2 separate regions of the Homo sapiens genome follow, and region 2 is linked to region 1. The links are contacts of gene promoters, found by promoter capture Hi-C in blood cells and fetal thymus (Javierre and others, 2016). All regions are on one chromosome and are shown on one strand. Each heading gives the region's core, a stretch centred on a gene start or on the middle of the fragment in contact. The rest is flanking DNA. Distances are from core to core; before and after follow the strand shown.

Region 1 (5,121 bases), core at 440-2,939:
AAAGTTAGAGTTTGTGTGTGTGTGAGACAGTGTTTTTAGTTAAATGTCAATATTTAAAATATACTATGACTTTTATACCATATTTTTTCATGTTGTCATGTTCTTTTAAACATGCTGGGAGCCATAAAGTTAGGAAGAGGCCCAGTAACCCGTCCAAAGTAACCTGACCAAAGTCTGACCCCTAGTAGAGGGCCTATGCCAGCACTGGAACCCAGTGTCTCCAGATCCAGAGGCATTCACCACCTCAAATCTGCCTCAAATGTCTGCAGTATGGTCTATCACAGGGGCTAATTAAGCTCATGGGATTTAGAGTCAGACAGATGTGTTTCCTTCAAAGTTTCAACAGTTACTTTCTGACCTTGGCAAGTTATTCAGCTTCCTCATTTGAAAACTAGAGGGCATAATGGTACCTACCACCGAGAGTTGCTATTAGGAGTAAATGAAAATACGCTTGAAGAACTCAGCATGGGCCTGGCAAGTAGTCAGCGTGCAGTAAATGGTAGCTGTTATTTTAAGAACTTTATTTGTTGAATGATTGACTCTGGCACATAACGCCTGCATTCAACTTGAAACACGGAGCTGTCACAGTCGTTCAGCTGAAGGGGCGGGAACTGTGGCACTTGCCAATTTTTTCTAGAAATAAATCTTTGTGGGAGGATAATGACCGGTTGGAGAGTGTGAGTCTTGAGGGAACAAAGATCGGATCTCCCGGCCCAAGGAGTACGGAAGCGAAGCCTCCCCTGCGCGCGGCAGCCACCGTGCGTAACCTCCCCTGAACCGAGTAGCAGCCGCCTGAGCCCACCCAGCCCTGGGCGAGGCTGCCTCAGAAGCCGGATTTCAGCAGAGTGGGTGCAGGATCTGCTTTAATTCTGCTCATCTTATTCTCGGGGACCACACCCTGCGCGCCGGGAGGAAGGGCTCCAAAACCACAGGGCGGAGGCTTCCGCGCGGCCCCAGACTTGACCATCTATGGTCACAGAACACACCGACCAAACAGGAAGTGGGGTGAGAGCGGAGGGTTCCCTACCTTCCCAGCCCCGCGACTGCCAGCCGGGCTGGGGCTGACCCACCGCGCCCTCACTGACCCCCACGCCCTGCGCCCAGTCTCCGCAAGTCCTCCCACAACAATGTCCAGACTAATTGCCTTCCCACGTCACAAACGGGGAAACCGAGGTATGCACGCCCAGAGACAGGCGGAGCGTGGCCTCGATCACCACCGAGAGCTGACGGCCGCCCGGATTCCCGCCCTCAGAGAATCCTGGCCCCCAGTCGTTCCAAGACCCTTTACGGACTGCAGCTTAAAGGAACCGGCCTCTGCCATTGAGACCAAACTGACAGAGGAACTGGTCACTCTTCTGTTCTTTCCAGAGAGGAGCTTAGCCAGGGACTTCTGCCCTTCCTGGGCCCGGGCCTCGGGGGCGATTCCGGGTAGGTAAAGCGGAACGAGGGCGTGGCCTCTCTTGTGAGCCCGCCCTCCCCGTGTCGCTCCCGCCTTGAGGGCGGGGCTCTTTCCCAAGTGCCCTCTGTGAGAGCCGGGCCGCTCTCTCCGGGGCGTGGCGAAGAGGGGCGGAGTCACGAGCGGGGCGGTGAGACTTCCTGCCCAGTCGCGGGCCAGCCTAGCGCTTCAGCCGGCGGCTCATTTCCGGTGGGGGCGCCGCGCCCAGTGAGGGCCCGGAAGTGGGTCGCGCGGAGATTGCTGGGCGGTTCTTGCCGGAAGCGGAGAGCGGCTGATCGCAGTCCGGAGGTGAGGCGGAACTCTGAGGTGAGGGTGTGCAGCTTGGTAGGGATTGGGGTCCCTTCCGGGGCCCATCGGCCCCTGGTGGTGTTAATGGCCCTTCTGGCCTACGCGCGTGTCATGAACCCTGCCGAGAGGGCCGGGGCTGAGGCCCTCAGGCCGACCCGGACTCTTGGGCGCGGTCTCTTGAGGTGGGGCCGGGGTGAGCAGCTGAGTCCGGGTGCCCCGGGGAGGCCCCTCTGCCCGATTTCGCAGCGCTGCCCATCAGCTTCAGCGGAGGCCTGATTCCTGAGGTGCTCTGACTGGAAGGAACCTCCGAGATCGGAGAGTCTTCCCTGTCTCCTGTTGATGCTCCCATTGCACTGATAGGTAAATTGATCCCTAGAGAAGAGGCTAGTCTGAGATATATAGCGAGTGAGGAAAAGAATCGGAATCATGATCCTGGTGCCTTAGATAACCAGCCCCAGTTCTTCCCGTGTTGCTCGGAACCTCTCTAACTTGGGATGGTCTTCCGGTCGGTGTTGCCCCGCAGGCTGCTGCAGGTTAAAGGCCAGCGCTGCGTGGAACTTTTTTTTTTCTCTCCTCCCAAATTGAGCCGTTTGAAATGCCTAGGGAGTTTTTAAAAGAAAGGCGGGCACATCCTTGTATTTACAGGCAGATATCCTCCCTTTCCTCCTCGGCTGCTGCTCTTACTTTGACAAGCCAGGCTAACATTGAAGGTATGTACTTCTGGACCTGAAATCAGACGGCTCAGGTTTGGTCTGGCCTCAGTGCTGAGTGTCTGTGGCCATAGGTGCCTTAAACTTCTTTCAGCCTCCTTTTGTTCATCTTTTAAGTGGAGATCTCTGCTGACCCCACAAGATTAAATTCAGCGTAACAAATTGTGTTTATTCTGTGCCAGCATTTTCCCAGATGCGGGGAATGCAGCTTTAAAACAAAACAATGTAGACCCTGCCCGCGTGGAGCTAGCAGTGTTTGCAGGGATGTTTAAGAAGTAATTATAAATGTTGATGAGTGTTAGGAAAGAACAGGGTGCTCTGAAAGTATGTAACAGGGGGTTCAGGAAAAGCCCTTCTGAAGAAGCAGAGTTTTTAAGATGAATTTTGAAGGATAAATAGGAATGCGTTCGAAGAGTGGAATGAGAACATTTGAGACAGGTTAGCATCAGAACTGTGTCAGTTGAAGCTCTTTGTGGGGCTCTCTCTTCAAGAGAAAATCCGGGGGCATATCAGCACATTTATCATTTACCAGACTTTTATTTAATTTATTTATTTGTATTTTTAGTAGAGATGGGGTTTCGCCGTGAAGGCCAGGCTGCTCTCGAACTCCTAACCTCAGGTGATCCCCCCACCTCGGCCTCCCAAAGTGCTGGGATTACGGGCATGATCCACCGTGCCCGGCCCCACCAGACGTTTATTAAGACCTTAATATGTATGAGGCACATTTTAATGAGATAGCCTTTGTGGCAAAGAATACAGTTCTTCTGGAGTTTACAGTGGGAGAGGAAATAGACAAGTAAATGAGGGATGGCTTACAGTGTCATAGTGCATAGCACAGGGCTACAAGAGCACAGTGGAGAAATACCTGAGCCAGGTGCCCAGGGTTCCAGGAGGAAATGGGAGGCTAACTCTTGAAATATTTATTTAGCTACATAGGGAATCCGGAAAAGGGATTTCCAGGCAGAGACTACTACAGGTGCAAGGACCTGGAGAACCGGACAGCTGAAAGACCATGACGAGTTCAGTGTGACTGGAATTCTAGTAATGGCTGGGGAAGTGGAGGAAGTGAGATGTGGTCAGGTCAGTCATATGTGGAGGACATTGTAAGTCATGCTAAGGAATTTGGATTTTTACCCTGAAAGCTATGGAGATGCTTTGAAGGGTTTTATGCAGGAAAATGATGTCGTCAGATTTATATTTCAGAAAGTTCATTCTGTCAAGTAGGAGGGGACCAGCCCTGTGGGGAAGTAAAACAGTGTTTGGAAGCTCTTGCTGTAGACATGGCCTGAACTAAGACAGTGGAAATGGGAATGGAGAGGAGGCATCAGATGTGAGCAATATTAAGAAGATAGAATCCATAGAATTGGAGGCTGATTATGGGAATGAAGAGGTAAGAATAGCGCGATTGCCTGGCTTTCTGGCTTAGGGAACTGAATGGGTAGTACCATTCAGATAGAGAGTATGAGAGGTAAATTAGGGAAGTGACATGGGAAAAAATGCATTTTGAATGTTTTTAGTTTGAGGTGTTTGTAGCACATCCAGGCAAAGATGTCTAATAAGGTGGGTCAGCTAAAGGAAAGAGCAAGAGTAAAGATACGGAGGCAGGAGAGGGCCTAAATTGTTCAGTGATACTGGGGCCTGGAGTTTTGCAGAAGACCAGACTGCAAAAAAGGTTAGATGTCGGCCAAGTTGTGAAGGGCTTTTTGTTTGTTTGTTTGTTTTGAGACGGAGTCTTGCTCTGTTGCCCAGGCTGGTGTGCAGTGGCACAATCTCGGGTCACTGAAACCTCCACCTCCCAGGTTCAAGGAATTCTCCTGCCTCAGCCTCCTGAGAAACTGGGATTACAGGCGTGCGCCACCACGCCCGGCTAATTTTTGTATTTTTAGTAGAGACGGGATTTTACCATGCTGGCCAGGCTGGTTTCGAACTCCTGACCTCGTGATCCGCCTGCCTCGCCCTCCCAAAGTGTTGTGATTACAGGTGTGAGCCTCCGCACCCGGCGTGAAGGGCTTTTAATGCCTTGTTGAATTTGTTTGGATTTGATTTTGTGGGTGGCAGTTTGCTAATTGATTTGCCCAGGTCCAGCATAAAGAAATTTCTGGGCTGGGCACAGTGACTCACGCCTGTAATCCTGACACTTTGGGAGGCTGAGGTGGGCAAATCACTTGAGATCAGGAGTTCAAGACCATCCTAGCCAACATGGTGAAACACCATCACTACTAAAAATACAAAAATTAGCTGGGCGTGGTTGTGCATGCCTGTAGTCCCAGCTACTTGGGAGGCTGAGGCAGGAGACTCGCTTGAACCCGGGAGGCGGAGGTTGCAGTGAGCTGAGATTGCACTGCTGCACTCCAGCCTGGGTGATAGTGAGACTCTGTCTCAAAAAAAAAAGAAAAGAAAAAAGAAATTTCTCGCTTTTTCCAGAAATACTTCCTCAATTGGGTAGGCATAATTGATATCTCAGAGAAGTTTAAATAAAATGGTAGCAGCAAAAGTACTTTGTAGAATACAGCCTGATGTGCAAACCAAAAGTGGTGATATTGTTAAGATTCAGTGAGTATATTTTTGCTTTGGAGTTTAGCTATTGAGTCTGTAAAATGTTTTGTTTCCAACCTAGGGATGATCTTTTATTCTCACCCTTTTTCCTGGTTGCAGTTATTTTTTTAG
Region 2 (5,046 bases), core at 1,460-3,959, 130 kb before region 1:
CCAGTTTATAATTCCTTTCTTATACAATATTTTTTTTCAGTGTTAAATTGCCTCAGTTTTTCTTTTGCTTAGATTTCTACATATCTATTATGAATTTAACCCTACACATTCCCACTAGAGCTACAAAGATTACTCCATATGGTCAAACACACTAGGTAATCAGTCTATCAGTTACATTTTTTTTCTAGGAATCATCTTGGTTGGAGTCCTTTGTCTTCCTGTTCTAGTCTGAACTTATTGATCTCTTGGCCTGCTTCACAATTGTCATCCTGTGACTTCCCTTTACCATCATCTTGGAAATTCCCTCTGCTTCTCTCCTGTGTCGCATCCCCTGTTTTCTGGAGCTTGTTTCTTCCTCTTTCTCGTTTTACTTCCTCACTTTGGTGGAGCATATCCTCCAGCAGCTGCTTTGAGAAAAGGTACTTGGGAAGTAAAAGTTTTGAGACTTTGTGTTTCTGAAATTTTCTTTGGTATACCCTTTGGTTGATGGTTTGGCTGGCTAGAGAATATTAGATTAGAAAATAATTTCCCCTGAGAATTCTAAAAGTACTTTTTTTCTGTTTCTTAGCAGCCAGTATTGCTATTGAGAAGACTGATGTCATTTTATCTACAAACCTTTGTATGTGACCTGTTTCTCTGGTAGCTTTTAGGATATATTCTTTGTCCCTGGCATTTTAAATGTTTTCAATGATGTGCCTTGGTGTGGGTCTGTTGGAATAAAGAATTTATTGGCCTTTCTCCCCAGTTCCTTGGAGGTAACCTCTAAATCCTTGGAATTTCCCAGGTAATAGGTGTGTCTGTTATTTATGGCAGGCACTGATAGCTTATGCTAATAAGGTGGCCCATGGGGGACCCCTAGATAGTTTAAGATGACTCATGATAGGGGCTGTCCATGCCAGAAAGACAAACCATGTGATTAGAGTGCTGGGCTTTTGAGCCACTTGATAATCAATCTGACCTCTGGGCAGGGGAAGAGGGCTGGAGATTTAGTTAAATAATCTGGACAATGATTCAGTTAATCGTGCCTACATAATGAACCCTCAATAAAAACTCTGGACACTGAAGCTCTGGTGAGCTTTTCTGGTTAATAATAGTCTGTGTGTATTGTTACACATCAATGTGCCAGAGGATGATGCATCCTGACTTCACGGGAAAAGGACACTGGAAGCTTTAAGTTTGGGATCCTCCAAGACCTTGCCTTTTGTGTCTCTTCTTTTGCCTGGTCCTGATTTGTATTGCCTTTGCTATAATAAAACTGTAACTATAAGTTTAGTGCTTTCCTGAGTTTGGTGTTCTGTGGAATTATTGAACCTAAGTAGGTAGTGGGAACCCCCAGATTTGTAGTCATTTGGTCAGAAGTGTGGGTGGCCTGGGAAACCCTGAGCTTCTATTAATAGCTGGTTTCTGAAGTGAAGGCAGTCTTGTGGAGACTGTGCCATTAACTTGTGAAGTTTGGCCTAACTCTAGATAGTGTCAGAATTGCATTGCAGCATCTTTTTGAATTCTTTGCGCTAAGCCTTTTTATTTATTTATTTATTTATTTTATTTTTATTTTTTTTAGATGGAGTCTCGCTCGTCTCCCAGGCTGGAGTGCAGTGGCGCAATCTTGGCTCACTGCAAGCTCTGCCACCTGGGTTCACGCCATTCTCCTGCCTCAGCCTTCCGAGTAGCTGGGACTACAGGTGCCCATCACCACGCCCGGCTAACTTTTTGTATTTTTAGTAGAGACGGGGTTTCACCATGTTAGCCAGGATGGTCTCGATCTTCTGACCTCGTGATCTGCCTGCCTCAGCCTCCCAAAGTGTTGGGATTACAGGCGTGATCCACTATGCCCTGCTATTTATTTTTTTTAAATTGAGACGGAGTCTTGCTCTGTCACCCAGGCTGGAGTGCAGTGGCACAATCTCAGCTCACTGCAACCTCTACCTCCTGGGTTCAAGCAGTTGTCCCACCTCAGCCTCCCAAGTACCTGGGATTACAGGTGCCCATCATCATGCCTGGCTAATTTTGTTATTTTTAGTAGCGATGGAGTGTCCCCATATTGGGCAGGCTGGTCTTGAACTCCTGACTTCAAGTGATCTGCCTGCCTTGACCTCCCAAAGTGCTGGGATTACAGGCAGGCGCCACCACACCCAGCTGCCCTAAATCTTTTAATATGGAAACCAATTCACTCTGTAATTATTCCTTTGGGAAATTCCTCCCCTCCATTTTTTTTCCCTTCTCCCTCTCTGAAACTCCTGTCTTGTCTTTTCTTTTCTCTCATCTCTACCTTTATGTGTTCTGTTCAACTTCCTAGGAGTCAAACTTCTAATCCTTTTTTTTTTCTAAAATAAAAATAGAGATAGGGTTTCCCTATATTTGCTAGGCTGGTCTCAAACTCCTGAGCTAAGCAATCCACCTGCCTCAGCCTCCCAAAGTGCTGGGATTATAGGTGGATTATTAGTGTGAGCCACCACACCCAGCCAAACGTCCAATCCTTTTATTCATGTTCTCAACTTCCAATCCTTTTCTCAACTTAAACATTTTTTGACTGATATTTTTTAATTTTTAAGACCTCTTTTTCTTGTTGTTCCCTAAATGTTCCCTTTTTGGAGCTTCCTGTTCTTTTTCCATGGACACAATCTTTTTCCCATTTTCCTCTGAGGCTATTAATAATAGTTTTCATACTTATTATAAATTTTGAAAGTCTTTCCTGCTCCCTGTTTTCTCTGACTTCTCCCTTGCTTACTTTGCTCTGTGTGTTTCATTAGAGGCTTTCTCAAACATCCGATAATCCTTGGTATAGATGTTTATGTATATTACAGAGTAGAGCCAGGCATGGTGGTGTGCATATGTAATCCCTTGGGAGACTGAGGCAGGAGGATTGCTTGGGCCCAGGAGTTCAAGATCAGCCTGGGCAATATAGTGAGACCACATGTTAAAGAAAACAAAACAAAACAGTGAGGCATTAAAAGCTGATTGAAAGCTCTATATGTGTGTGTGGGGAGGTATTTGATTACTGAGCTTCACTAAAGGGTTTTAGGCAGGTACCTAGCAGGGGACTCCTCAACTGTCAGTATGAGTACATCTTTCTTTTTCTTTTTTTTCTTTTCTTCTTTTCTTTTCCTTTCTTTTCTTTTCTTTTCTTTTTTCTTCTTTTCTTTTCTCTTCTTTTCTTTTCTGGGACAGAGTTTCACTCTTGTCACCCAGGCTGTAGTGCAATGGTGCAATCTCGGCTCACTGCAACCTCCGCTTTCCGGGTTCAAGCTATTCTCCTGCCTCAGCCTCCCAAGTACCTGGGGATTACAGGCGCCTGCCACCATGCCCAGCTAATTTTTTTTTTTTTTGAGACGGAGTCTTGCTCAGTCGCCCAGGCTGGAGTGCAGTGGCACGATCTTGGCTCACTGCAAGCTCCGCCTCCCAGGGTCACGCCATTCTCCTGCCTCAGCCTCCCAAGTAGCTGGGACTACAGGCGCCTGCCACCATGCCCGGCTAATTTTCTTTTTTTTTTGTATTTTTAGTAGAGACGGGGTTTCACTGTGTTAGCCAGGATGGTCTCAATCTCCTGACCTCGTGATCCACCTGCCTCAGCTTTCCAAAGTGCTGGGATTACAGGTGTGATCCACTGCACCCAGCCGCAGCTAATTTTTTTTATTTTTAGTAGAGACGGGGTTTCACCGTGTTGGCCAGGCTGTTCTCGAACTCCTGACCTCAGGTAATCCACCCACCTCAGCCTCCCAAAGTGCTGGGATTACAGGCATGAGCCACCTACCTTTCTATTTTCACATATAGAAGGCCTCTAATCTACCAGGGCGAGGTTAGAAACCTGGCTGCCAGCCTTCTGGGTACCAAGAGGGGAAAGGAGATGAAGGGATCTATCTTATGGTTCAGCTAATCCCTCCCTGACTTCAGTACAGTCCATCACTCTTGTTCTCAGCTGTGCCTGGTGTTCCCAAATCCACAGCCTCTCAATTCAACCTGTCTCCCGCCAGGTAGGAAGAGGGCAGTCACCTGATTACAGAAGTTGAGGGAGAAAATTTAGGAGTCTAATTCCTTTTACTTTCATCCAATCTTCTTCTTTTCAGCCCCATCCTACCATCCTGCCTTTAGAAATATCCAGTGCCTCCAGTTGATGAGCTGTTCTTGGGTTCTGATGCACTCATGGGCTTGCTCCTTGTTGATACTTCTCCTTCTCCCACTCCCACCATAAGCAGTTAGTTTCTGATTTTTCTGGCCTTTTGCTAAATCAGCCAGCCCTTATCTGTCTGCTTTCAAGCTTCACAAGGTTTGTATATATCTGTCAATTGCTGTTGTCTCCTCCCCCTCATTTTCTTTTTTTAAAAATTGAGGAAAAATTCACATGCCGTAAAATTCAACATTTTAACCATTTAAAGTGTGCAATTCAGGCCAGGTGCAGCGGCTCATGCCTGTAATCCCAACACTTTGGGAGGTCAAGGTGGGCAAATTGCTTGAACCCAGGAGTTCGAGACTAGCATGGGTAACATTTCTACAAAAAAAAGACAAAAATATTAGCTGGCCAGCATGGTTGCTCACACCTGTAATCCCAGCACTCTGGGAGACCAAGGTGGGCGGATCACCTGAGGTCAGGAGTTTGAGACCAGCCTGGTCAACATGACAAAAACCCATCTCTACTAAAAATACAAAAAATTAGCCGGGCATGGTGGCACAGGCCTGTAATCCCAGCTACTCAGGAGGCTGAGGCACGAAAATCGCTTCAACCCAGAAGGCAGAGCTTGCAGTGAGCCAAGATCGCGCCACTGCCCTCCAGCCTGGGCGACAGATCGAGACTCTGACTCAAAAAAAAAAAAAAATGTATTAGCTGGATGTGGTGTTGTGCGTTGCAGTCCCAGCTGCTCACTCAGGGAGCTGAAGCGGGAGGACTGTTCTAGCCCGGGAGGTTGAGGATGCAGTAAGCCATGATTGCAGTGCTGCACTCTAGCCTGAGCAACAGAGTAAGAACTTGTTGCAAAAAAAATAAATAAATAAAAAATAAAAAATAAAGTGTGTGATTCAGTGGTTTTTTTATTTGCCTATTTGTGCCAACAT

Evidence for each region. Contacts are between HindIII fragments. The CHiCAGO score rates a contact against its expected background, and 5 or more counts as called.
Region 2: a contact is called between a fragment that was not itself captured here and the fragment with the promoter of CAP1 in region 1, in 3 of 17 cell types (M0 macrophages, M1 macrophages and M2 macrophages). The highest score is 6.8, in M0 macrophages.

Annotation. Positions count from the first base shown.
Region 1 is chr1:40,039,040-40,044,160 of GRCh38, forward strand. It overlaps CAP1 (cyclase associated actin cytoskeleton regulatory protein 1), which reads left to right and starts at 1,690. Exons shown (of 13, transcript NM_006367.4): 1 at 1,690-1,762. It overlaps LOC105378669 (a long non-coding RNA gene), which reads right to left and starts at 1,407. Exons shown (of 3, transcript XR_001738013.3): 1 at 1-1,407. RefSeq lists enhancers at 708-1,341, 1,310-1,379, 1,342-1,976, 1,630-1,829, 1,900-1,989. The HindIII fragment of the contact is 17,502 bases long and covers 1-5,121 here.
Region 2 is chr1:39,907,391-39,912,436 of GRCh38, forward strand. No RefSeq gene overlaps it. Among named protein-coding and RNA genes, the nearest start is that of MYCL, 8.0 kb to the left of the region's middle. The HindIII fragment of the contact is 3,087 bases long and covers 1,167-4,253 here.